Linked DNA regions of Homo sapiens: all the other regions are linked to region 3. The links are contacts of gene promoters, found by promoter capture Hi-C in blood cells and fetal thymus (Javierre and others, 2016). All regions are on one chromosome and are shown on one strand. The core of a region is centred on a gene start or on the middle of the fragment in contact, and the rest is flanking DNA. Distances in the headings are between cores, read along the strand shown.

The links. The method cuts DNA at HindIII sites, captures the fragments that hold promoters and counts their contacts. A CHiCAGO score of 5 or more calls a contact.
Region 1: a fragment that was not itself captured here is called in contact with the fragment with the promoter of FANCC in region 3 in 4 of 17 cell types (naive CD4 T cells, naive CD8 T cells, non-activated CD4 T cells and 1 more); the score reaches 7.6 in naive CD4 T cells.
Region 2: a fragment that was not itself captured here is called in contact with the fragment with the promoter of FANCC in region 3 in 2 of 17 cell types (fetal thymus and M1 macrophages); the score reaches 6.0 in fetal thymus.
Region 4: a contact is called between the fragment with the promoter of LINC00092 here and the fragment with the promoter of FANCC in region 3, in 1 of 17 cell types (M1 macrophages). The highest score is 5.1, in M1 macrophages.
Region 5: a contact is called between a fragment that was not itself captured here and the fragment with the promoter of FANCC in region 3, in 1 of 17 cell types (fetal thymus). The highest score is 6.6, in fetal thymus.
Region 6: a fragment that was not itself captured here is called in contact with the fragment with the promoter of FANCC in region 3 in 3 of 17 cell types (total B cells, naive B cells and fetal thymus); the score reaches 6.5 in total B cells.

Annotation. Positions count from the first base shown.
Region 1 is chr9:96,053,662-96,058,055 of GRCh38, forward strand. No RefSeq gene overlaps it. Among named protein-coding and RNA genes, the nearest start is that of LINC00092, 34 kb to the left of the region's middle. The HindIII fragment of the contact is 2,840 bases long and covers 1,147-3,986 here.
Region 2 is chr9:96,219,192-96,223,391 of GRCh38, forward strand. No RefSeq gene overlaps it. Among named protein-coding and RNA genes, the nearest start is that of HSD17B3-AS1, 25 kb to the right of the region's middle. The HindIII fragment of the contact is 1,823 bases long and covers 464-2,286 here.
Region 3 is chr9:95,315,702-95,319,806 of GRCh38, forward strand. FANCC (FA complementation group C) reads right to left here and starts at 2,008. Exons shown (of 15, transcript NM_000136.3): 1 at 1,825-2,008. RefSeq lists a silencer at 1,360-1,679. The HindIII fragment of the contact is 1,904 bases long and covers 664-2,567 here.
Region 4 is chr9:96,019,575-96,023,717 of GRCh38, forward strand. LINC00092 (long intergenic non-protein coding RNA 92) reads right to left here and starts at 2,237. Exons shown (of 2, transcript NR_024129.2): 1 at 2,011-2,237; 2 at 158-1,707. It overlaps LOC105376159 (a long non-coding RNA gene), which reads right to left. Exons shown (of 2, transcript NR_188619.1): 2 at 3,686-4,143. It also overlaps a transcript of ERCC6L2 not described here. RefSeq lists a silencer at 1,417-1,466 and enhancers at 1,677-1,726, 3,159-3,659. The HindIII fragment of the contact is 3,638 bases long and covers 1,019-4,143 here.
Region 5 is chr9:96,146,866-96,150,864 of GRCh38, forward strand. It overlaps the pseudogene EIF4BP3. Among named protein-coding and RNA genes, the nearest start is that of HSD17B3-AS1, 98 kb to the right of the region's middle. The HindIII fragment of the contact is 1,535 bases long and covers 1,786-3,320 here.
Region 6 is chr9:94,721,786-94,726,046 of GRCh38, forward strand. No RefSeq gene overlaps it. Among named protein-coding and RNA genes, the nearest start is that of AOPEP, 2.8 kb to the right of the region's middle. The HindIII fragment of the contact is 3,741 bases long and covers 935-4,261 here.

The DNA of each region.
Region 1 (4,394 bases), core at 1,317-3,816, 740 kb after region 3:
AAGGCACATTCTCCTGTCAAAGGATTTCTAAACTCTCCAGACCTTATCAGGCAGGGTCCCAACAGGAAGCAGAAGGCACACTCAAATTAGCATCATAGAGGAGAGTTTCTCTATATACGGACTACCTACAAGGTGTGGGCAGGTGCAGGGGAGCCATGCAGGAACCCCAGGCCACAGCAGGTGAGCTGTCACTCGCACCAGATCCAGCGGGGTGAGGGAGGGAGAGGTTATCAGAACTGAAACATGGAAGGAGAAAGTTGTGAGGAGGACAGCCCCTCCACAGGTGATTTTACAGAGTCGGGGGATGCAGAGCAATGAGAAGCCTCACCTTCCTCTCTCCCCCTGAACTCCTGCTGGGGCTCCCCCGGCCCCTGGCCAAACCCACCCAGAAGCCAGAGGGCCCAGGAGTTGTAGAGTGCAGTCCATGCAGCCATGCAGGGCAGGCTTCCAGGGCAGAAGGGGGCTGGCAGGTGGACAGTGGGTCTGGGGGTGACAGAAGCAGCACACAAGGACTCTCTGCACGTGGACGACCCTTTAGCATGTTCTTCTGGAAGGTTTAATGTTCACCCAGCCTTAACTTCTTGGGAGAATTTTAAAGTATTAAGAGCAGGGAAAATTGAAAACCAATTTAAAAAGGGAACTTAGCCATTTCCAAGTGTATTAGTCCATTTTCACAGTGCTGATAAAGACATACCCAAGACTGGGCAATTTACAAAAGAAAGAGGTTTAATTGGACTTACAGTTCCACGTGGCTGGGGAAGCCTCACAATCATGGCGGAAGGCAAGAAGGAGCAAGTCATGTCTTACATGGACAGCAGCAGGCAAAGAGAGAATGAGGAAGACACAAAAGCAGAAACCCCTGATAAAACTATCTGATCTTGTGAGACTATTCACTACCACAAGAACGATGTGGAGGAAACCTCCCCCATGATTCAATTATCTCCCACCGGATCCCTCCCATAACACGTGGGAATTATGGAAGTACAATTCAAAATGAGGTTTGGGTGGGGGCACAGAGCCAAACCATATCACCAAGTTTAAGTGGAAATGTATGATTTGAGCCATTAAACACTTAGATTGTCCCAAACTCTCAGGAGCACATCTGTGGCTCATGTGAAGCAGGCCTACCGCTTTGTGTAATTCTAAAGCTTCTTATAGGTTTCCACTATAGACTCAAAGCCCAGAACTTAATGTATAATAACAGTACTATTATTATTATTGTAACAACTATATAGCAATGCTATACCTTGCAGATCACTAAGTATTATCTATTTCAGGGAAGCCATAGGTTTCACTGGAGCTTAAGGGAACCATCAAAAACAAGGAATTCGTAAACAGGATTCAGTGTTTGCCTGGCATGGGACCACTATTTTTGCTGGTCCTCCTTTTTCTAGGCCTCTGTTTCATTGAGAAAAGTTGTAAACTGTGTGCAAGAGAGGCAAAAATGTGTTGCTCAACTTATAATGATTAGTCTGGTGCACCGTCACTAGAAGGTTGAGATGCGTCATCCATTGGAGGGAACATTCAGCAGCCTAAACAAGGATGCGTGGAAGACTCCAGTTGACATGGGAAGATATTCGTCATATATAGCTGAATGAAAAAAAAAAAAACTTACAAAAGAGCATTGTAGTGAGATGCCATTTTTTGAAGAAATCATATGTGTGTGTGTGTACATGCATGTGTGTATTTTTAAGTCATGAAGAAAAGGTATGAAAATGACACAAATAGTTAACTTGGCAGGTGGGATTCCAGGTAACTGTCATTATCCTTTTGCTTATTTGCATTTGATAAAAGAAAAACTTCAGCTGAATTAAATTTAAAGGAGTGTAATTGAGCAATGAGTGATTCAGGTATGGAGCAGCCTTCCCAGCCAGAGTAGGATCAGGGACTCCAGCACAGCCACGTGGTGGAAGACTTATGGACAGAAAAAGGAAAGTGACCTACGGAAAACAGAAGTGAGGCACAGAAGCAGCCAGATTGGTTACAGCTTGGCATTTGCCTTATTTGAATAGAGTTCAAACAGCTACATTTGATTGGCCAAAACTCGGTGATTAGTACAAGTGGAGGCTAAGGTCTGTTTACACCTATACTTGTTATAGTTCACGATGTACAGAAAAACCTTTAGGCCAAACTAAAAATAGCTAAGGAGGCAGCTTCAGGTGAAACTTGATTTAACACATTTTTAAAATGAACATGTATTTATCATCTAAAAAAAATGTTATGGTATGAAAGAAAATCCCTGCCTGCAACACCTTAGAAACAGACTGAAGCCCCAGGACCACCACAGAGCACAGCCACAGGGGCCCTCGCCATCTTGCATTCTTTGATCCTTGTGCAAAGGAGACCCTCAAGTCCACTCTTCAATTCCTCACTGCAGCCCTGGACTCTCCTAGTGCTTACTGGAAATAAGGCACTGTTAAAGGCAAGGGGGGGAAAAAGACTGGCCCCAGCGTCTCAGCATAGAAGACTGGGGACCTGAGATGAGCCTCTCTGGACATGGCAGGTCTGTGTAAGCCAGCCCTGTGTGCCATGACCTTTTCTCTATGGCTTTACATTCTTCCCTTCTGTGCCCTCTCCCTTACCTCTAAGGGTGGGGCTAGTGGTGATAGTGCTGGTACAGATTCTGGAATTCTGATCTTACAACTTCAGCCAGGCATTGGTCTCTGCCTTCCTTATGTTTCACTTCCTATTTGCAAAATGATAATGCTGTTTCCTAGTCTAGGAAACAAAGAGGCCCTTCAGGGTGTCATTGGACTCTCTGCCTGCACCCGCATCCCTTCCAGCTGGGCTCCAGATGACATAGATTAGCCAACGCTTTCTGTGTCCATAACCATCGCCAGTGATCCTTTGGTTAAAGACATCCCCAGATCATATAAGGTCTTCTCACTTCCCAGCAAAGCGCCTGAGTGACCTCGTTCTGGAGACATACAATCCAAGCCCTCTGCCTGTCCCTCATTTGTGTGAAAAGCACTCTTTTGGGAGGTGTCTTTTCCCTGGTACTTCTCTCCTGAAGATAGCAATCTTCTCCCCTTTTCAGGTGTCTTTCCAGTTTTAGATTCTATTGTGTTCTCTAGAGAGTTTGTAAACGTTCTCTTTGAAGAAAAGTTTCAGATTGAGGAAGGTTCTTAAAGCCATGATACTCCCGAGGATGAATGGATTTGCTTCTCAGCATCTTTTTCTGACCTCCCTTTGAAAGGATGGAAGGCTAGGGATATTTGACAGCTAGTGGTCTAAGTGTTAAGAGGGATTGGGCCATATTCTTTTTCTTTCAGGTATAACTTCTCTTATTGGAATATCTTCTCTGTCTCTCAACTTTTATATTCTTGCACCAGAGCTGAACAAGTACAGCCAACCCCAAAGGCCTGTGTTGGTGGGGATCAGGAAGTGTGGCGGAAGCCCCTGCCTCCTGCAGGCTGTCAGGGTGATCACTGCCCTCCACCAAAACTCATACTGCTCCAGGTGTTCAGAAGCCATGCCCATGGGTTGATGGAGATGCTCCTGAGCTGTGAAGACCAACAGAAGGGCCGGAAGGCAGAAGAAACACAGGATGTGGCCAGAGACATAGTCAGGTGCTAATACCCAGGGCAGCAGCACCTTTAAAAGGCCCCACTCTCACAGGGGCAGGGGCAGGACCTGGCTGGGCCCTGACTGGGAGCTCATCAGCAGGGGGAATGAGTCACATGAAAGGCTCCACCCCTGAGCAACAACATTCAAGACAGCATGTGATATGGGTTTGGGTGTTTTGTGCCTTCCAAATCTCATGCTGAAATGTGCCCTCCAGGGCTGGAGGTGGGGCCTAGTGGAAAGTGTTTGGGTCATGGGGATGGATCCCTCATGAATGGCTTGGTGCTGTCCTCACTCACTCTGTGAGTTCACATGAGATCTGTTGTTTAAAAGAGCCTGGCAGCTCTTCTCTCTTTCTCTCTCTTGCTCCCTCTCTTGCCATGTGACACACTGGCTCCCCTTAGCCTTCTGCCATGATTGGAAGCTTCCTGAGGCCTCACCAGAAGCTATTGCCAGTGCTATGCTTCCTCTATAGCCTGCAGATCCATGAGCCAAATAAACCTCTTTTCTTTATAAATTACTCAGCCTCAGGTATTCCTTTATGGCAACAAAGAATGGACTAACACATGCCATGAGGATAAACTCATAAATTAACAAAACAGAATAGAGTCCAGAAACATACCTGTATGTGTACGTTTAATTGATTGTGGACAAGGTTGCTAGTTGACAGGGAAAGAATTGTCTTTCGACAAATGGTGCTGAGACAAGTGGATAGCCACACACAAAAGAACCAACACCATATCCAAAAAAAAAAACTCAAAATGGATCAGAGACCTAAATGTAAGGTCTAAAACCATAAAAATCTTAGAGGAAAACATAGGAGTAAATCT
Region 2 (4,200 bases), core at 125-2,624, 900 kb after region 3:
TCCTCTGGGCGCCTCCCCGAGGGCCTCGCTCGTCTGACCCGCAGTACTCTCCGCCCTGCTCCTCGTGCCTTTGGTGGGCGCGTGGCTTCCGGCCTGCGGAGGCTGTGCCTCCTCGCCAAGGAGCCGTTCACAGCCGCGCGTTCGAAAACCCAGCCGCCGGCCGCGCGTCCTGGAGAAGGGGCACGGTCAACTCGCACGCCCTAAGGGCCGGGCCACCGGGGTCACTGCCCGGCCTGCGGGGGCCGTGCCTGGGGCGTAGGAGCAGCGCTCCTCCGCAGGCGCTATGCATGCCTGCGCCCTCCTGCAGGATGGGCCACGAGCCCAACTGCCAGGCGATCGGCCGAGACCCAGAAGGGTGAGAGGGGGAAGCCGCACCCTCTTCGTGGGTGCGATGCTGTGAACGTCTTCCTTCAAGGAAAGAGCTGCTTCTGGATTTTCCTTGAACTCCAGGAGGTGCTAAGAAAGCTTCGTGACTGTGGCAGATGCGGCTCAGCGGCCCCTCCCAACCCGCCCGCGCCAGTTGGGAAAGTGACTCCCCCGCTCCCCGCCAGTTGGGAAAGTGACTCCTTCCTGTGGGCAGAAGGCAGCGGACCTGGAGGGAGCCCTCGGGCTCTGAGAGTCACGCGGGGGGCGGCCTGCTCTCCCGCGCCCCCTAGCGGAGCATCGGCTCACACGCACCTGAGAGGTCGGAAGAGGCGGGCGCTTCTCTGCCTCCCCCACCCAGGCCCCTTGCAGTTTGTATGCCCTCACCCTGGATAAAAGATTTTGGTTCAACTAGAACTATCTTTTCTAGATCTCATTCCTTTATAACTTTTTTGCTCACAGGAAAAAAACAGGATTATAAAGCCTCTGGAATACGGTCACAGTCGCCAGACTGGGCCCTAGGAGGGCTGAGTTCCTCATTCATTGTTGGTAGAAATATAAAATGGTATGACCCCCTTCCTTTGGAAAATAGTTTGGAGTTTCATAAAATTTTAAACATACACCTGTCATCTGACCCAGCCATTCTACTCCTAGGTATTTACTCAAGAAAAACAAAAACATCTGTCTATACAAAGATTTGAACCTGACTGCTCATAATTGCTTTGTTTGTAATAGCACCCGAGTGGAAGCGACCCAAATGTCCACCAACAGCTGAATGAATAAATAATTTGTAGTACAGACACTCCAAGAAATATTACTCAGGAGTAAAAAGGAATGCACTGGCCGGGCATGATGAGATTACACGCCTGTAATTTCAGCACTTTGGGAGGCCGAGGTGGGCAGATCATCTGAGCCCAGGAGCTGGAGACCAGCCTGAGCAGCATGAAGAAATCCCATCTCTACAAAAAAAAAAAAAAGAAAAGCCAGGTGTGGTGACGCAGGCCTGTAATCCCAGCTACTCGGGAGGCTGAGGCAGGAGGATCACTTGAGCCCAGGAGGTCGAGGCTGGAGTGATGCAATCTCAGCTCACCCAGCCTGGGCAACAAGAGTGAGACCCTGTCTCAGGAGAAAAAAAAAAAGGGCTGGGCGCAGTGGCTCACGCCTGTAATCCCAGCACTTTGAGAGGCTGAGGCAGGCGGATCACCTGAGGCCAGGAGTTTGAGACCAGCCTGGCCAACATGGTGAAACCCCGTCTCTACTAAAAATACAAAAATACAAAAATCAGCTGGGTGTGGTAGCCCATGCCTGTAATCCCAGCTTCTAGGAGGGGCTGAGGCAGGAGAATTGCTGGAACCTGGGAGGCAGAGGTTGCAGTTAGCTGAGACTGCGCCACTGCACTCCAGGCTGGGCCACAGAGCAAGACTCCAAACCGCCCCCCTAACACACACACACACACACACACACACACACACACACACACAAAGAAAAAGAAAAAGAAAGGAATGTTGTGCACACAACAACATGGGTGACTCTTTTTTTTTTCTTTTTTTTTTGAGACGAAGTCTCGCTCTTGTCCCCCAGGCTGGAGTGCAATGGAGCGATCTCGGCTCACTGCAAACTCCGCCTCCCAGATTCAAGCGATTCTCCTGCCTTGGTCACCCCGAGTACCTGGGATTACAGGTGCCCGCCACCATGCCCGGCTAATTTTTGTATTTTTAGTAGAGACAGGGTTTCACCATGTTGGCCAGGCTGGTCTAGAACTCCTGACCTCAGGTGATCCACCCGCCTCAGCCTCCCAAAGTGCTGGGATTACAGGCGTGAATCACCGTGCCCGGCCAACAACATGGGTGATTCTCAAAACAATTACGTTCAGTGCAAGAAGCCAGACTAAGAAGAATGCCTACTGTGTGATTCCATCCTATAAGCTTCTAGGAAATGCAAATGAATCTATAGTGTCAGAGCAAATCAGTCATCACCAGAGTTTGGGATGGGGCAGGAAGGACATATTTCGAAAGGCACAAGGATGTTGGGGAGGGTGAGGGGTGATCAATATTGTAGTCATTGTGATTGATTGTGATAGTTTCAAAACATATCAAGTTAGGCAATTTTAATATGTATTTATTGTATGTAATATGTCAGTGTCACCTCAATAAAACCATTTTTACCCAAAAAACAACAAACATCAGGTCTCTGGGCTTAGCACCCCTTGGAGAAAGAGGCTACAGGTGGTCAGGAGTAGAGCCTGCAAATCTTTATTTTTCAACTTGTCCCAGTGATTCTAGAGCATAGTCTTGTTTGAAAATCAATGGTTTAAGCAGACCAAAGCAGAGAGGTGGGCAGCCAAAAGTCCACAAACAGCACTGTCCTCCACACCCAGGCATCCTCAAAAATGTTTAGGGACAATCAATTGCTCTACACCCCAACAATCAACACCAAGCAACGGAAACACCAGGGGACACTTGCGGAAAGTCAGACCATCAAAAATCCCATCTTCCCATACCCTCAGCCACCCCAGGAAACACACCATCTAAATAAAATGGCACATCTAGCCCCTCCCGCCAGAAGACTATCCCTAAAACATTCTTAAATAGAAATTCTAAGCCATAAATTTATTTCCCCTTTTTAGGAATCAACTCATGCCTTGGTCAGTGACTAACACACCTACTACTACTCATGACACATTGGTTAGTGCCCCTAATCTTCCTCATCTCCCTAATTTTGGGACCCCAGCCGAAATGGTTTAGTCTTGCTGGAAATGTTCCCACTGGCCACTAGGGGAAGTAGTGCCTGGATTATACACATCCCCTGAGCCTCCAATCCCCAGCTCCTGAAAACTGCCACACATGCAAATTTCTCTTTTTGGGGGTAGTCAGTAAGGCATCTTCAGATTCAAGACCCACGTTGTAATGATTCTGGACTTGGTTTTAACTCAGGGTAAAATTCCAGCAGTCTTTTAACTTATCTGAGCCTCAGTTTTCTCATCTGTAAACTTAGCACAATGAGCCCTTTGGGGCTAGCCTCCCTACAGCACCGACACCCTTAGTGTAGCATCTCCCTCTCCCTTGGCTATTCCTGCATCCACAGCCAGCAGCAAATGTGGACATATGGGATTGAGAGTAGGCAAGGAAGTCCCTGGAAGACAGCAACCATTGAACTGGGTCATGAGTGTAAATGGCAAGCCTGTTCTTCCCTAGTTCTGCCAGGAGGATGGAGTGTCAGCAGAAGTCTATGGAGGTTCCTCCCAATTGACCACACTGGGAAATTCTCCCAACAATGACTCTTCAAAGCCATCCTGGTAAATTCTTCCTCTTGAGTGGTTCCCAAACAGTTGCCTCATTTTCTCCAGAACTTTACAAGTTCAACGTCCATGGTTTGGATCATGGTTTGGGCTCAAATTCATGTTTGTCCCTATACATTTATATATTTTTTAAGGAATAAGAAAAGTTCGATTATGCATTGCTTATCCAAACAGGTTTGCAGCTTCAAGAGTTTTAAAACTAGTGCTTGGATTCAGGGCTAATTTTCCCTGGTAATTGAGGGCAGTTTTGTTGCTAAAAGGCTGAGTTGCTTCAAAGTTCCTTTTATTTCCCTTAATCCCAAAGCCTGTGTGAGACAGTCATTGATGAACATTGCAAACATCCTCATTCTCCTTAACTACATAATTCTCTACGCCTAACTAAAATAGAATAAACTAGAATGGAAAGAAAGAACCCTTCAACATAAAAAACTTCTAAGCCAATAGTCCATGTTTTAAGTCACTATCCAACAAGCAAGGACAAATTGGGTAAAAGAAAACAAAATCTCAAGTGTCAATAGCAGTGAAATAAATAGATTACA
Region 3 (4,105 bases), core at 758-3,257:
GCTCATTTCCAGCCCGATTTGAGGCCCTAACACTACCAACTTGGAACTACCACTCATGTGAGTTTCCTCTGGCTCTCTCCATGGCCCAGATAATCAATCCAACTTTCTACTGGCCAGGCTGGCCTCCCTGTAGCTGGTTCTCATAAACACGAAATTTGTATAATTGTTATTGGAACTACCTGCTGAAATATGGAACTGGTTAAAAGTACCATTTGTTTTAAAATGTACATGCACAGTTGCACATACATGCAGCAACACATCTTCCACAACCAGCCAATCAATCAAGTTAATGCTTTTTATTAGAGGACAAAACAAAAAATACCAATATAGAGCCTGCTTTTCTTTTCTGATGCCTTGGTAAACGTTTTTGGAGAAATCAAGAGAAAATATGACCGAATAAAGCAAAAATAAATTCGAATGTATAATATACAAAGTATAATTAGTCCAGTTCTCAAGAAGCAGGCTCTATTACTGGGAGTAGTGGGTTGGTGAAAAAGATCTCTGATATATCTAGGAAAACAAATTCTTTTTCGATGCAGCCTTTCTTGTATATGAATAATGTATATGAGTGCTTATTTCCAGGTGACTCTGGTACAGCACATAACATTGAAACATCAATTCAAGTTTAATGTATAAAGTCGCAATGAACATGTTTTCCATCTAAGCTTAGGTAATGAATGATCTCAACACATGGTATGAATTCTACTGTTTGTAACAACCTTTCAGGGGAGTAAGGAGAAAACGATCTGTCTGAGGGCATATCACTGACAGTGAGTGACAGCCACAAAGAGCTGAAGTTGGGTGGCCCAAAAGTGCTCTGCTCATTTGATAAATGCTAAGTCAAATCACATCACAGTTTAGATGCATTAAATGGGGCACAAGTTAGAATAAAATCAGATGCCCGGGAGTTTTCCAAGTTTCAGATTAGAACAAAAGTCCAGGCACATACAGGACTTTGCTAGAAAACTCCTTGGTCTCTTCCCTTAAGATTCTGGTACCCAATTTCCCATGTTATAAAACTCCAAGTCTTTTCCCCCATTCGGTGCGCTGGACACATAAGATCATAGAGGGTTCGTAGTTGTAAACGCACCCACCTAAAAAATTAAAAAGAGCAAACCAACAAACAGCACCTGAAAAATCTCTCACGGGCTTTGAAGATATGGCCTGGCGTCCACAAAAAGAATGGAGGGAAGACACTGGCCTCTGCGAACCCGCCTCCCTCCGGGAATAAAAGGCGGAGGGCGGGAGGGGTAACAGCCGCGCCCCGGGCTCCTCTAATTGGACCTCGCCCCTCCTGGCGCCCCGGCGAATGGGGTTTGGGGGCAGGGGTGTGAGGGACGGGGAGGACGAGGCCAGCTGTAGAGGGCGACCGGCTCAAAGGGGCGAGCTTTTCACGGCTCCCACGAGTCCGAGGCAGAGAAATTCACCTTTGCTCCTCTCCTTTGAAGAAGACATAGCTGCCTGCGCTCAATGAACAAAAAGAACCAAAACGCCAACACCCGGCTCCCGCCTCTCCGGGGGCTCCCTTCCGCGCGACCCCAGCGCCGGCTCCCGCCCCCGCTTTCCCCGCCCTGGCCCCGCCCCGCGGGCTGGCACCGCCCGCCACCTTCCGCCTCCCGCCTCCCGCCTCCCGCCTCAGCCTTAGCCACAGCCCTGCGCCGGCGGGAACCCCTCTCGCCCACCGCAAGGCGCGCCTGGCCCACCCGCTCTCGCGAGCCTTCCCTCTTGCCCCTCGCCTCCTCCTCCCGCTCTCGCCGCTGACGTGTCGGCCAGACCCCCGAGGGAAGCCTCCGCCCTCGCTGCGTTCTGCGGCCTGCCGCTTACCGGGTGGTCCTCGCGGGAGCTGCTTCAGCAGTTTGGGCAGTGGCGGAAAGGAAGCCACCGCCCGGGATCTGTGGCTTGAAAATTTGGCTTTGCCTCGTATTGGCTTTTTGAGTTTTTTTGGAATTTTCCCGCGGTCGCCCGGCAGTGGAGCCGCGCGCGCGCACACGTGTCAGCAGTGCATTCTGGGGCCTGGCTAGCGGCCCCGCGCGCTCCCGCGGCGTCGCGGGAAAATTCCGACGAATCTCGGGTCCGTGGGGCGGGGCGGGCGCGGCCAGGGCTCTGGCGGAAGTGGGCCCGGCTGGGGCGGGTTCTAGGCGAGCGGAGTCGGTACTGCTCCAGTGTTCCCGGTTTCGCGCGGAAGCCCCGGCGGGAGCAGGGTTGCAGCAGCGCCCGCGGAGAAGGGGCGCTGGCTTCTTCCATATTCTGTTCAAAATGTAGGGGAGGTAAAATGGAAATTAGTTCTTTTGAAGAAAAGTTGAGGCTTTGTCAACGGGGTAAAACCTCTAAAATAAGATTTTCTAACTGCGTTCTAAACAATAGCAACAAAAAAGGCATCTTCAGTTAATGATTTCCCCTACCGTACATTAGTTCCATACAGTGTTTGGTCGGGGTTCAAATCAGTTCAACGCTGTACATAAACCACCCAAACAAATATTAATAAAATTTTCTCCAAACTCCCATTTATGACAATGGCATTAGCTTGTCTTGGTGAATTTTTTTTTCTTCTAGGATCTGACGACTTAAGCTTTAAAATGTCTTAAATCAATGCCTCACAACCATAAATCATAATCATAAAACTACAGCTTAGGTCGGGCGCTGTGTCTCAGGCCTGTAATCCCAGCACTTTGGAAGGCCAAGGCGGGCGGATCACGAGGTCAGAAGATCGAGACCATTCTGGCCAACATGGTGAAACGCCGTCTCTACTAAAAATACAAAACGTTTAACCGGGCGCGGTGGCGGGCGCCTGTAATCTCAGCTACTCTGGAGGCTGAGGCAGAATAGCTTGAACCAGGGAGTCAGAGGTTGCAGTGAGCCGAGATCGCGCCACTGCACTCCAGCCTGGCGACAGAGGGAGACTCCGTCTCAAAAAAAAAAAAAAAAAAGCTACAACTTCACATATACGTTCAAAAACACACTACAGGCCGGGCGCGGTGGCTCACACCTCTAATCCCAGCACTTTGGGAAGCTGAGGCGGGTGGATCACCTGAGGTCAAGAGTTTGAGACCAGCCTGGCCAACATGGCAAAAACCCGTCTCTACTAAAAATACAAAAATTAGTGTGTACTCCCGGCTACTTAGGAGGCTGAGGCAGGAGAATTGCTTGAACCCAGGAGGCGAAGGTTGCAGTAAGCCAAGATCGCACTACTGCACTCCAGCCTGGGCAACAGAGCGAGACTCTGTCTCAACAAAAAACACCACAAAGCTGTGTGTGCTTGTAATAAAAATAGCTCTCAAGTATTTAAACATGTCCAACTATTCCTATGGTGAAGAAATACCCGTTTTACCAATGAATACTTTCAATTCAGAGACTAATTTGCAGAGGTTATACATTTATAAGTGATACAATAAGTATATAGCATAGCAATAGCAACAATCTGTTTAAGAATTAAAGGTAGTTAAAAAAAGGAACCGATCCAGAGGTTGAGACAAAACTGGCAGAATCTGCAACTACATTAAGGAATTCGGTGTTTACATCCATTCTCGAAACTATTCCATGCCAGTTAAGGAAGTCGGTGCTTTTTGATTGTTTTTTAATTTTAGATTCGGGGGTACATGTGCTTGCTTGTTACATAGGTATATTGTGTAATGGTGGGGATTGGGCTTCTGGTGTACCTGTCCCCCAAACATTGAACATTGTACCCAATAGCTAATTTTTCAGCCCTCACCCCCTTCCCACCCTCTCCCTTTTTGGAGTCCCCAGTGTCTTGTTATTCCCATTCTTATGTACATGTATACCTATTGTTTAGCTCCCGCTTATGAGAACATGCAATATTTGATTTTCTGTTTCTGAGTTTGTTCACTTAGGATAATGTCCTCCAGCTCCATCCATGTTGCTGCAAAGGACATGATTTCGTTCTGTTTTACAGCAGAGAGGTCGATGTGTTTTTGATGTGTGCATAGTGTGACATGGATAAATCAAAAGCAAGTCCTGGGTAGGGAAATACATGCCTGAGGGGCACTCATCGTGGCACCTTGACCATGAGAAAGTCACCTCTGTGGTAACAAATCGAGAGTGAGTTGACGTTTAAGTTCTGCATTTATCAGCAAAGAAAGCAATTAAA
Region 4 (4,143 bases), core at 987-3,486, 700 kb after region 3:
CACTGTTGCCTGAGGCAGCACTCTCACTGTCCCAAGACCCCATCACACCTTCACCTTGCTGGGACCTCCTAACTCCCTCAGCTTCCCCTACTCCACATTGGGGGTGTATCAGTCCATTCTCACGCTGCTATGAAGAAATACCCGAGAAATACCTGGGTTAATTTATAAAGCAGTTTAATTGGCTCACAGTTCCTTATAGCTGGGGAGGCCTCAGGAAGCTTACAATCATGGAGGCAGTTCACGTGAAGGGGGAAGAAAGGCACCTTTCTCACAGGGTGGTGAGAGAGAGGAAGGGGGACGGGGAAAGCCCTTTATAAAAGCATCAGATCGGCTGGGCACAGTGGCTCACGCGTGTAATCCCAGCACTTTGGGAGGCCGAGGCAGGCAGATCACAAGGTCAGGAGTTCCAGACCAGCCTAACCAACATGGTGAAACCCTTTCTCTACTAAAAATACACATTAGCCGGGCGTGATGGCGCGCACCTGTAATCCCAGCTACTCGGGAGGCTGAGGCAGGAGAATCTCTTGAACCCGGGAGGCAGAGGTTGCAGTGAACCAAGATCGCGCCACTGCACTCCAGCCTGAGTGACAGAGTGATACTCCGTTAAAAAAAAAAATCTTGTGAACTCACTGTCACGAGAGCAGCGTTCAGGAAACCACCTCCATGATTCAATTACCTCCACCTGGTCCCGCCCATGACACGTGGGGATTATTAAAATTCAAGGTGAGATTTGGGTGGGGAAACAGAGCCAAACCATATCAGGGGGCCAGGCCTTCAGCAGGTGGATAAGATGGGAGGAGTTCTGAAATACACACCCGGGATGCTCCAGAGGCCAAATCATAGGGCAGGTCATCCCAAGGACAGCAGTTAATTCACTGACATGCCAGCAAAGGGCAAACCGAATCGGCCCCGCGGAGCCCAGGTAGGGGCGCCGCTCACCTCCTAAAATGCCCTCAAAGACCCCTTAGGGCACAGCCATATGCTGAGACATGTTGGGGTGGACAAGCAGGTCTCAAGAAGCTTAGAATGTCCCCTAGGTGGACGCTAAGGGACAAGGCCCACCGAGGAAGGCAGCTGCAGATGATGGAATGCCCTCCCAATGGCGGGAACAAGCAAGGCTTCCGCAGCTCAAAAGGAGAAACATGCTTTGCGCTGGAGTCCTCAGAAAAGGCCACTTCCAAACTGTGGGGATGGGGAGTGGACGGGCCTAAGAGAATGGGAAGGCAGAACACCCCTTCTCCAGTCTCCCTTGGCCGTTAAAACCCCAGAGCAGCAGCAACGTGGGCTGTTTGGTGCGGAGGTTCCTGGTTTGGGTTGGCCAGGCGTAGAGTGCTTCCGACAATTCACCCACCCTCCAAGACGCGCGGGCCGGGGAGCGGGGAGAGGGCGGAGGGAACGGCGCACCGGGCCCCGTCGGACTGTTGGACCAAAAGTCCTCAGTGTCGGGGGCTCGCAGCGCCGCCGCGGCGAACCCAGCTAGGGGGCACCGCCTGCGCCGGGCACAGGGAGGCCGTTCGGCTTTCCCCCTCGCGCCCATTACTCTCAGGCGTCCCGGGGAACCCCGCGGGCCAAGTGTCGGGCTGCGTCCGGGCAGAGGCGGCTTCGCCTGGTGTCAGCGCGTTTCCGAAGGGCACCCGCGGCGGGGCCCACAACTCGAGCTGGGAGCCGCCCCAAGCAACCCGTTCCTCCGAATCAGGCTGCTTTTCTCTGTAAAGAAAAGAGAAAGCAAGCGATTAACTGATGGCTTGGCCGGCTGGAAACGGGAAAGCGAGTTCTCCAGGAGCCGCACACCTCGGGGAAGCCCAGTCCCTCCCGGGCAGGGAGCGAGGGGCGGTCCTGGGGGCTGCTTCCCGCGGGGAGAGAAGGGAGGGCGGCGCAGCCCTCTGCGGGGTCCGCCCCTCGGTTCTCCGGACCCCCGCGGCCTGGGGGACACGGGGCAAATTCTCGGATAGCGACGGGCAGGAAGGGGACCCGGGCTGGCGATGGGCCGAGTGCCTCCTTTGCTCTCACCCCCGCGCGAAGACGAGGCCAGTGGGCGGGTGGCGTGGGGCGAGGCCTCCGCAGGCCGCCGGGGGCCCAGGCACCTGGAGCCGGGAGGGTCCGCTCCCTTCCCCGCCCTGGATGGCGGCCTATGGGAAAGCAGTCTCCACTGGATCCCGCGCGCGTCGCGCCGAGGTCGTGGGAAACCGAGGGCGGGAGGGCGGGAGGGCGGAGGCGCCGGCAGGGTCGGCGGGACTGGGGCTCGGACGGAGGACAGGGGCGAGGAGGAGGCAGGAAGGACGCCGGGTACTGCGGGGCGCCTAGGGGGTTCCGAGCGCAGCGGCTGCGGGGCCGACCCGCCCAGGATGGAATCAGGGCCCCGGCGCCCCCACGCCGCTCCTCCAGGCCGAACCCCTGCGGCCCCAATCCCCCGGCCTCACGCCCACCCCGCAGGTCGGCCCTGCAGCTGCCTTCCCTTCCTCCACCTCCCTCCCGCCTCCGAAGCCGGCGCCCCCGGCCAAGTGGCCGCTCTCAACCTGTTACCAAGTCCTAGAGAGAATTTCTCCAAAATATTTCCTGGATCCCCCTGCCAAGGGCCCTGTCCCGCCCTTCCAGCTCCCAACTGGATGCCTGCAGACCTCTCCCCGGGTTCCGAGGCTCTGGCCTCCTCCCTCCCTAATCCATTTTCCACACCGCTTCCCCGGGAGCCCGTTAAAATACACCGGGACCGCGGCGGGTGCAAGCCTCCTGTATCTCCACATAGCAGGCTAAGGGGAATTGGGTAGGGAATAAAGGCTGCAGGGGACATCGGCTGGCAGGTATGAAGCCCGTATTGTGTGTCGTTTGTTAAACACTTCCAGTGGATTTTCTCGTTTAATCTGCCCAACAACGCTTCTGGGCCGGTATTCGTATTGTTTTATAGAGGGAGAAACTGAGGCACAGAGGGGCACTCGGCTTGTAAGCAACGGAGTAATTCAGAGCCCGTCAGCCCCACGCCGAGTTTATTCACCCTGGCAGGGGCTTCCGCGGGAGCCATGACCCTTCCTAACTGGGGTGGAAGGACCCGCAGCGCCAGCCGGGTCCGGGCCAGACGGCAGCGAGTGTCTGTTAATAGGGATGCTGAATGGGTCAGGCAGTGGGGCACAGGTTCAGTGTGATCTGGAATGCCTGCGAGGCCCCCTTGCTCATCCACCTGCCTTTAATGGATGGGTGGTCTGAGTTTCTGGAGATGGGCAAGATGGAGCAGTCTCCACACTTGGCTCTTCAGCCCCGGCGCCCCCCACAGCCGCCTCTGCTTTCCTGGAGATACCGCAGGCTCCTAACCTCAGGCCGGCTTGTGCTGCTCCACCCTCTCCCTCCCCCACAGACACAGGCCACTTAGCGCGCTCTCCCGTCCCTCACCCCTGCCAACAGCAGCCACTTCTGGCCACTTCCTTTACATGTGAATGAGTCCAGGTCTGGGCTGCCTTTGTCCGGGGAGGCCGGTGGGATTTCCATCAATAATTGTTGGTTGGTGAGTCAGGGGTCAGCAGTGGTCTCCTTTCCAGGACCCAGAAATGACACCACAAGGGTAACTGGCCACTATTTCCTGCCTAGGAACTAGCAGCATCCCACCCCCACCACTCCATGGCCTAGATAAGACAGGCCAAGACCCCAGAGACAACAGGACTCTGGAACAGGGAAGGGATTTATGATTAGCATAGGCTCTAGTTAAATTCCTTTTTTTATTTCTGTGCATTGACCTATTATGTAATATGCTTTTTTCTTCCTGGAATACAGATCCTACCAGTGGTTTTATTCCTTTTTTATATAATGTTTAATTCATCTGTCTCTGTAAATCCATCACATGAAATTGAAAGGGTCTCAAAGAGCAGACTGTTTCCCCCCTAACTCTTCCACTATTCAACCCAGGGGCAAGCACTGTCATCCCTCACTGCTACCAGCTTCTGGTCAGTCTTTCTGGCCACACGTATGTAGACATGCTTCATTCTTTTAACTGTGTTTTTGATGTTTTCTATATTAACACCAAAAAAAAGTACACTAAGAAATCAGTGCTATTTCCGAATGGAGCCCGGAGTTTCTCAGCACTGCGCTCCTCCAGTGCCAGAAGCACCCTACTTCTCTTCCTCAGTTGCTTCATCAATCACATGGGGCTGGGGCAGT
Region 5 (3,999 bases), core at 1,303-3,802, 830 kb after region 3:
GGGATGATGTCTCAGAGGAGGCGGGGACCACTATGAAGACCGATATGACAGACGGGATGATCGGTCTTGGAGCTCCAGAGATGATTACTCTCTGGATGATTATAGGCGTGATGGTAGAGGTCCCCCCCAAAGACCCAAACTGAATCTAAACCCTCGGAGTACTCCTAAGGAAGATGATTCCTCTGCTAGTACCTCCCAGTCCACTCGAGCTGCTTCTATCTTTGGAGGGGCAAAGCCCGTTGACACAGCTGCTAGAGAAAGAGAAGTAGAAGAACGGCTACAGAAGGAACAAGAGAAGTTGCAGCATCAGCTGGATGAGCCAAAACTAGAACGACGGCCTCCGGAGAGACACCCAAGCTGGCGAAGTGAAGAAACTCAGGAACGGGAACGGTCGAGGACAGGAAGTGAGTCATCACAGACTGGGACCTCCACCACATCTGGCAGAAGTAAGTCAGCCCAGGATGCACGAAGGAGAGAGAATGAGAAGTCTCTAGAAAATGAAACACTCAATAAGGAGGAAGATTGCCACTCTCCAACTTCTAAACCTCCCAAACCTGATCAGCCCCTAAAGGTAATGCCAGCCCCTCCACCAAAGGAGAATGCTTGGGTGAAGCGAAGTTCTAACCCTCCTGCTCGATCTCAGAGCTCAGACACAGAGCAGCAATCCCCTACAAGTGGTGAGGGAAAAGTAGCTCCAGCTCAACCATCTGAGGAAGGACCAGCAAGGAAAGATGAAAACAAAGTAGATGGGATGAATGTCCCAAAAGGCCAAACTGGGAACTCTAGCCGTGGTCCAGGAGATGGAGGGAACAAAGACCACTGGAAGGAGTCAGATAGGAAAGATGGCAAAAAGGATCAAGACTCCAGATCTGCACCTGAGCCAAAGAAACCTGAGGAAAATCCAGCTTCCAAGTTCAGTTCTGCAAGCAAGTATGCTGCTCTCTCTGTTGATGGTGAAGATGAAAATGAGGGAGAAGATTATGCCGAATAGACCTCTACATCCTGTGCTTTTCTCCTAGTTTCTCTCCACCCTGGAACATTCGAGAGCAAATCAAAACCTCTATCCAGACAAGACAAAATAAAATTCACCATCTCCTGAAAAAAAAAAAATTTCAGTAATACGGAGGAAAATAATCACTAGATTATACTATAATTCTAATATTTGATGAATTATTTGAATGGGTGCATTGATAATATTAACTTAAACAAACTTTAAGATCTACATTTAATTTTCAGTTCCTTAATTTCACATAGGCCATTAGTCTTTCAAGAAAATATTCTGCTTAGATCAAGCTTTTCCAACCCACAGCCAGCAGGTTGCATGTGGCCCAGGACGGCTTTGAAAGTGGTGCAACACAAATTCGTAAACTTTCTTAAAACATTATGAGATTTGTTTACGATTTTTTAAGCTCATCAGCTATCATTAGTGTTAGAGTATTTTATATGTGGCCCAAGACAATTCTCCTTCCAATGTGGCCCAAGGAAGACAAAAGATTGGACACCCCTGATTTAGATATTCTTATCTATAAATGGCAAGCAGCATATCATCTTTGTCACCTCAAAATTTCATAAGGAGGAAAATAAGTCCAAAATAATCGCAACAGATACCTGGAAAATTATGATTGATCCAGTTATAACAAAGGGTATAAAAGGATGAAGAGGTACTCAGGAAAAACGTGGCACCCACAATGTACATTTTCACTAGCCAAATTCAAAACAATAGAATTCACATGAATTCTTTCAAAACACATTTCAGTTCTGTGGAAACCAAATGTTTGAACAAAAAGCTTCTCAAAATGTTACCCACTGACAACTGTATTCAGTGGATGAAGACAAAGAACTTTTGTAATTTACTCAAGTGATCAGGTACAAAGTTCTTTCCAGAAACCATGTTATCGAAATGCTTTCTTCCTGCATGACATGCTGCTGCATGCACAAAGTTTAATGGTGTTATTAAATGTGCTGCTTTTGTATTCTTTCCATCAGTTTGACAGCCTGGTGGATTAATGGTGAGGCTGAGTGCGCTCATCTTTATTTTGCTGCCAAGAGGCTTTGGTTCTTCCCAGTAAAAGGAATCTTATTGGAGAAATATTTATGAAATGAAAAGTCCATCAAGTAAAGTGTTGGGCAATTGTCTCCAGCAATGGAACAAACATGGTGATGGCTACAAGTGACTTGGGAATCACAAGCGTCCTATGATTTGTTCACACTCTTCAGCTGTGTGTTGAGAAAGCAATAATGGCACAGAATTGCTGCCTGTAATCTCCAGCAAGTGGGCTGCTTTCATCATTCTTTTTTATCCAAAGATAAACTACATGACATAGAAAAGATTTTGGAACCGGCTTATCATGTAATTTTACAAAATGTTCCAATAAACTGGAACAGTAGCTATTCCGTGTTCAAAGGCTGCTTGAAGAACAAAAAAAGTCTTAAAATTGTACCATGTGGGAAGCAATGCCAATTTGGCATAAGATTGCTTGCAGAGAACGCAGCTCATTTGCTGGAATGTGCTGAAGAAGTGACCTACTCCATGGACTTTGGGAGGCAAGCACTTATTTTCTTCTTCAGCCTGCTTTAGACCCTCCTATTTTCCTAGCCGGAAAGGTGCTGGGATTAACTTGCTTGCAAGGAGCGCTGAGGAGCATGGACATTTAGAGACACAGTGTTAGCTTAAAAGCCTATTCCAGTGCTCCACTGTTAATTTTTAGATCCAACACTTGAGGACAATTTTTCCCTCAAATGCATGCAAATTATTGGAAATGAAGATGACTGAGGAAAGGCAGCAATCTGAAGACTGCTGCTGAAGCGTCCAGAAGGCTCCTCGAGCAGAGCACGCAGCTTCTGTTTCCGGGGCTGCTGCATTTCCTGCAACCCCATCTTCAAGTCCAGGTGGTAGGGAAAGGAGAACACTTGATGTTAGCAATTGCAATAGTCCCCCGTTATCTGCGGGAACAATCCAAGACCCCCTATGGATGCCTGAAACTGCAGATAGTATGGACCCTACATATACAACACAGGTTGTCAGACAGCACGGGTGGTTCACGTTCCCACTTGAAAACGTTTGAAGTGTGAAACCATTTGTTTCTCCCCAGTGGGACCCTTCCTGACGCCAGGACAGACTTGGCCTCTTGGGTTAGTGTCCCTGTGATACCGATCCTTCTGCAGGGATGTTTGTCTAGCCCTCACCAGACCCTTGCAGTAATACCTAGACTCTTTTAACGAAACCAGGACCAAGAATACAGTGTTCAAGGGGTGAGAACTCAGGTATACAGACGAACAACTGTACTACATTTTTCCTTGTACATAAATACCTATGAAAAAGCTTAACTTATGAATTAAGGCTAAGACACTAAGAGATTAACAACAATACCTAATAATAAAATAGAACAATGATAAAAGTATCTGTAATAAAAGTTATGTAAATGTGGTCTCTCTCTCTCTCCCAAAGTATCTTATTGTACTGTACTCACCGATTTTCAGACCACAGTTGACTGTGGGTAACTGAAACGGCTGAAAGCAAAACCACAGCTAGGGAGACTACTGTGTCTATGTTTAGAGCAGCGTTTCTCTACTGTGGTTGGCACTATTGACATTTTGGACTAGGTGGTTCTTTGTTGTAAGGGGCTGAGTGTCCTGTGCATCATAAAAAGCTAGCAGCACCCTTGACCTCAACCCAGTAGATGTTGGTCCCAACACTCCCCCAATTTCCAGACATTGCCTAATGTCACCTGGGGGGGCAGAATCACCCCTAGAACCACTGGCTTAAAGGAAGGAAAGCTGACTCACATGCTACATTTACTTCTTACACGGTAACCCACCGTGGCACCCGTCCCATTGATCTGCTTCAGGCACCAGCATCTTCTGCGGAATCTGGTGCTGACTAAGCTAGCTACCAAAGCATATTGTACGGCCCCACTGGTTTCTTGGAAATGGACTTTTGTTTCCACTGCAGATCTGAAAACAGTGACCACAGGAGCACCCTGCCCGGTGACGGTGCTG
Region 6 (4,261 bases), core at 1,555-4,054, 590 kb before region 3:
TAAAATGGCTACCTAGACAAGCCAACACATCTGCATTTCAATCAAAAGGAAGGATGATGGAAAAAAAGAAGACAAACTTTTGTCTTATCTGTTTGGTAAGGATGGTTGCCACACCTTGCTACATGATACTTTCTCTTACAGCCATTACCCAGTGCATAGTCACAGGGCCACAGCTAGCTGCAAGGGAGGCTGAAAAATGTTGTCTTTCTTCTGGGTGGCCATGTTAGAATTAGATAAAGATATTTTATTACCTAGAATGTGAGCGTTCTAGTATTATGAAACAACAACAATAAAATAACAACAACAACAACTGGATATTGAGGACCGGCCAGCAATCTCTGTCATCCTCTCCTCTATTGAACTTAGTTCATCTGGGCTAATTCTGTCAGAAATTCTTTGAACTTTAATCCAATGCACTAAATCTCGGTGAGGATATGAGTAGATTTCATGGAGCTGACAGCATCAGAGGGGAAAAAAGTCACTAATGAAAATCATATCTCAACCCATTAATGAAAATCATATCCACTAGGGAGTACACATTCCTAAGCCCAGACCTTAGGGGTATATCTCTGCTTGCGACATGAATACTCATCAATGTAAGTTTTGCAAGTGGAACACTTAGTATTCTCAGGAGTAACCAAATGAATACAAGATGTTGACTCATGTCACTTTGACTCCATGAGGTGTTGATTTTGTATATATAAACACAAACATTTAAATCAAAATTATATTTGCATCAATGATTTGCATCAATAAAAGTATGTCCTGGAGCAAATTTCATTTTGTAAATTTATAAAAAATTCATTTTAATATTTTATGTTTTAAATTTTATATTACATACAAACTGTTATATAACATTTATATAACTGTTTCTCATTTTTCTACTTCACTAGAATTATTTTCACTGGAATCATTTCCAGTTCTTTTACATGTAAGCTTCCCATTGAAGTTACAATTTAGCATTATTTTTTGACTTCATGACAAATTATAGTCATTAGAGTTTCTGACATTATGAGTTTTCTTTTGTGGTTAATTAACCAAGACCAGTTGTTTTTCCGCTGAAACTTTGTAGATCTAAATCTTGTCAAAAAGATTTTATTGATTTTTTCATCAATTTAAAATAAGTGACACATTTTACCATGTCTGTTTTTCTCAATTTTTCCAGTTTTCTTTTCTTTTTTTTTTTGAAATGGAGCCTTGCTCTGTCGCCCAGCTGGAATGCAGTCGCGCGATCTCGGCTCACTGCAAGCTCCGCCTCCCGGGTTCACGCCATTCTCCTGTCTCAGCCTCCTGAGCAGCTGGGACTACAGGTGCCTGCCACCACGCCTGGCTAATTTTTTTTTGTATTTTTAGGAGAGATGAGGTTTCACCGTGTTAGCCAGGATGGTCTTGATCTCCTGATCTCGTAATCCGCCCGCCTCGGCCTCCCAAAGTGCTGGGATTACAGGCGTGAGCCACCGCGCCCGGCCAATTTTTCCTGTTTTCAATGTTACCAATCAGCAGTTATTTTTCAGTCAGTTTTAATTTTATAACTAAATTGTGTTCAGTTTTGGCCACTGTTAATTTCATTTTGTATTTATTTCTATCAAGTCCAGTTTTCCCTGTCAACCTGGTCACAATATCCTTGGCATAACAATAGCCAGGCAAAATAACAACAACAAAAAACCCAATGAGATAAAACCCCAAATTCCAGGCAACTATTCTGACATGTTTGGTGGCTATAAAGATGGAAATAAATACATCTTAGGAATCTTCTAGTTCCATCTTCTCATTTTATAAGTGAGAAAACTGAGGTTTCCCAAGAAAGATGAAGTCTTGAGCCAGTGCAAGAGTTATTAAGGATGGAGGTGATGAGCAGGTGTGATAAATACTGATTGGACTGTGGGATGACAAAGAGGGACAAGTCTAGGATGATCTTGGATTTCAGGCTTGGGTGACTGGGTGGATATTGATGCTATTAACTCAGACAAAAATACATGAGTAGGTCAGGTTTGGAGGTGGGGACAGAGGACGAGTTCAGGTTTTTAAATGCTAGCCCGATGTTTAAGTGGAATCTGGATATTTGAATAAGTTTTTTTTTTTTTTTTTTTTTTTTTTTTGAGACAGAGTCTCGCCCTGTAGCCCAGGCTGGAATGCAATGGCATGATCTCAGCTTACTGCAACCTCCGTCTCCCAGGTTCAAACCATTCTCCTGCCTCAGCCTCCCAAGTAGCTGGGATTACAGGTGCATGCCACCACGCCCAGCTAATTTTTGTATTTTTAGTAGAGACGGGGTTTCACCATGTTGGCCAGGATGGTCTCGAACTCCTGACCTCAGGTGATCCTCCCGCCTTGGCCTCCCAAAGCATTGGGATTACAGGCATGAGCCACCGCACCCGGCCTGAATAAGAAATTTTTAAACAGGTCTGAATGGAAAGATAGACTTGGGAATTGTCAGCTTACAAACTTACAGGTGGTAGTCACCTGACAAGAGACAAAGTCACCACCCTGGGAAAATACACATCAAGGAGGCAAAGTTTGTGCAGGCCTGCAGGCCTCATATGGACAGCAGATGTGTTTTGTTTGGTCCAAAACAGAAGTTTAATAAAATGTGAATTAGTGAGCAATGTTTAAAATTTGTGAGATTTCATGTAAATATCTGTATATCGATTGGTGTTTTTTTTTCTTTTTCTTTTTTTTTTTTTGAGATGGAGTCTCACTTTGTCACCCAGGCTGGAGCACAGTGGCGTGATGTTGACTCACTGCAACCTCTGCCTCCTGGGTTCAAGCGATTCTCTTGCCTCAGCCTCCTGGGTAGCTGGGATTACAGGCACCCACCACCACGCCCGGCTAATTTTTGTATTTTTAGTAGAGACAGGGTTTCACCTTATTGGTCAGGCTGGTCTTGAACTCCTGACCTTGTGATCTGCCCGCCTCAGTCTCCCAAAGTTCTAGGATTACAGGCGTGAGTCACCATACCCGGCCCTCGATTATCTTTTAAGCAGGGGATCTGACATCACCGGGTCAGCATTCCTGGTTGGCAAAAATCAACAGAGCTGTGGTAGGGACCACGAGCTCCAGATCACCACAGTCTCTATCCCTGGGCTTCACTCCTTTGTGTTAACTGCCCGGCTGCTGTAGGCTTTGGGGTTTGCAGCCTCTGATGGAGCCTAAGAAAGCCAAGGGAAAAAAGAGCTCAGGAAAAGGGAAAGTGGAAGCCAGTGATAGAAACTGAGGAAAGATAGGTGACAGGAGAACCTAGAGGACTGACTTGGAAACAAGCAAAGAAATCAAGTTTGAAAGGAGGTGAAACAAACCTTGTTTTAGCTATATGATCCAGCTATTTGCTTAGGCCCCAAATTTAAGAATTATTTTTGACACTTTTCTTTTCCTTATCTCCCTTATCTAAACTCATCTCCAAGTCTGTCACATCTACCTCAGAATTATTCCTGAAATTTGTCCATTTCTATCATTTCTTACCTGCTCATTGCAAAAGCAACTCTTCTCTTTGCATCCTTTTAAATTGTTTCTCAAAAGTTTCATGTATACACAGCAGCTAGCAGGGTGATGTTATAAAACTAGATCCTGTCACTTACGTGTTGATAACTCTTCACTAGTTTCCCCTTACACTTCGAATAAACTCGTATTCCTCACAGGAACCCAGAGAGTCTGTGCATGATGGGGACTCTCCTTGCCTTCTTGATCTCATCCTCTGTTCTTCCCATGACCTACTTTCTCACTTTCTCCAAGGCACCACATTCTGCCCCTTCCCTATTGCTTGCTCACATGTAGATTCTTCTCTTGGCTGTTCTTTCCTTAGCTCTCCACAGAGTTGGCTGCTTCTCAGTTTACTGAACCTCTTCAGAGGGCACTTTCTTGACATCTCAAATCAAAAGGTCACCTGTCTTCCTTTAATTTCTCAGCAACTTATTTTCCTTCTACTTTTTTTTTTTTTTTTGAGATGGAGTCTCGCTGTCGCCCAGGTTGGAGTGCAGTGGCGCGATCTCGGCTCACTGCAGGCTCCGCCCCCCGGGGTTCCCGCCATTCTCCTGCCTCAGCCTCCCGAGTAGCTGGGACTACAGGCGCCCACCACCTCGCCCGGCTAATTTTTTGTATTTTTAGTAGAGACGGGGTTTCACCGTGTTAGCCAGGATGGTCTCGATCTCCTGACTTTGTGATCCGCCTGCCTCGGCCTCCCAAAGTGCTGGGATTACAAGCGTGAGCCACCGCGCCCGGCCTTTCCTTCTACATTTAATGTTTGCTTTCTCAACTAGAAAGTAAT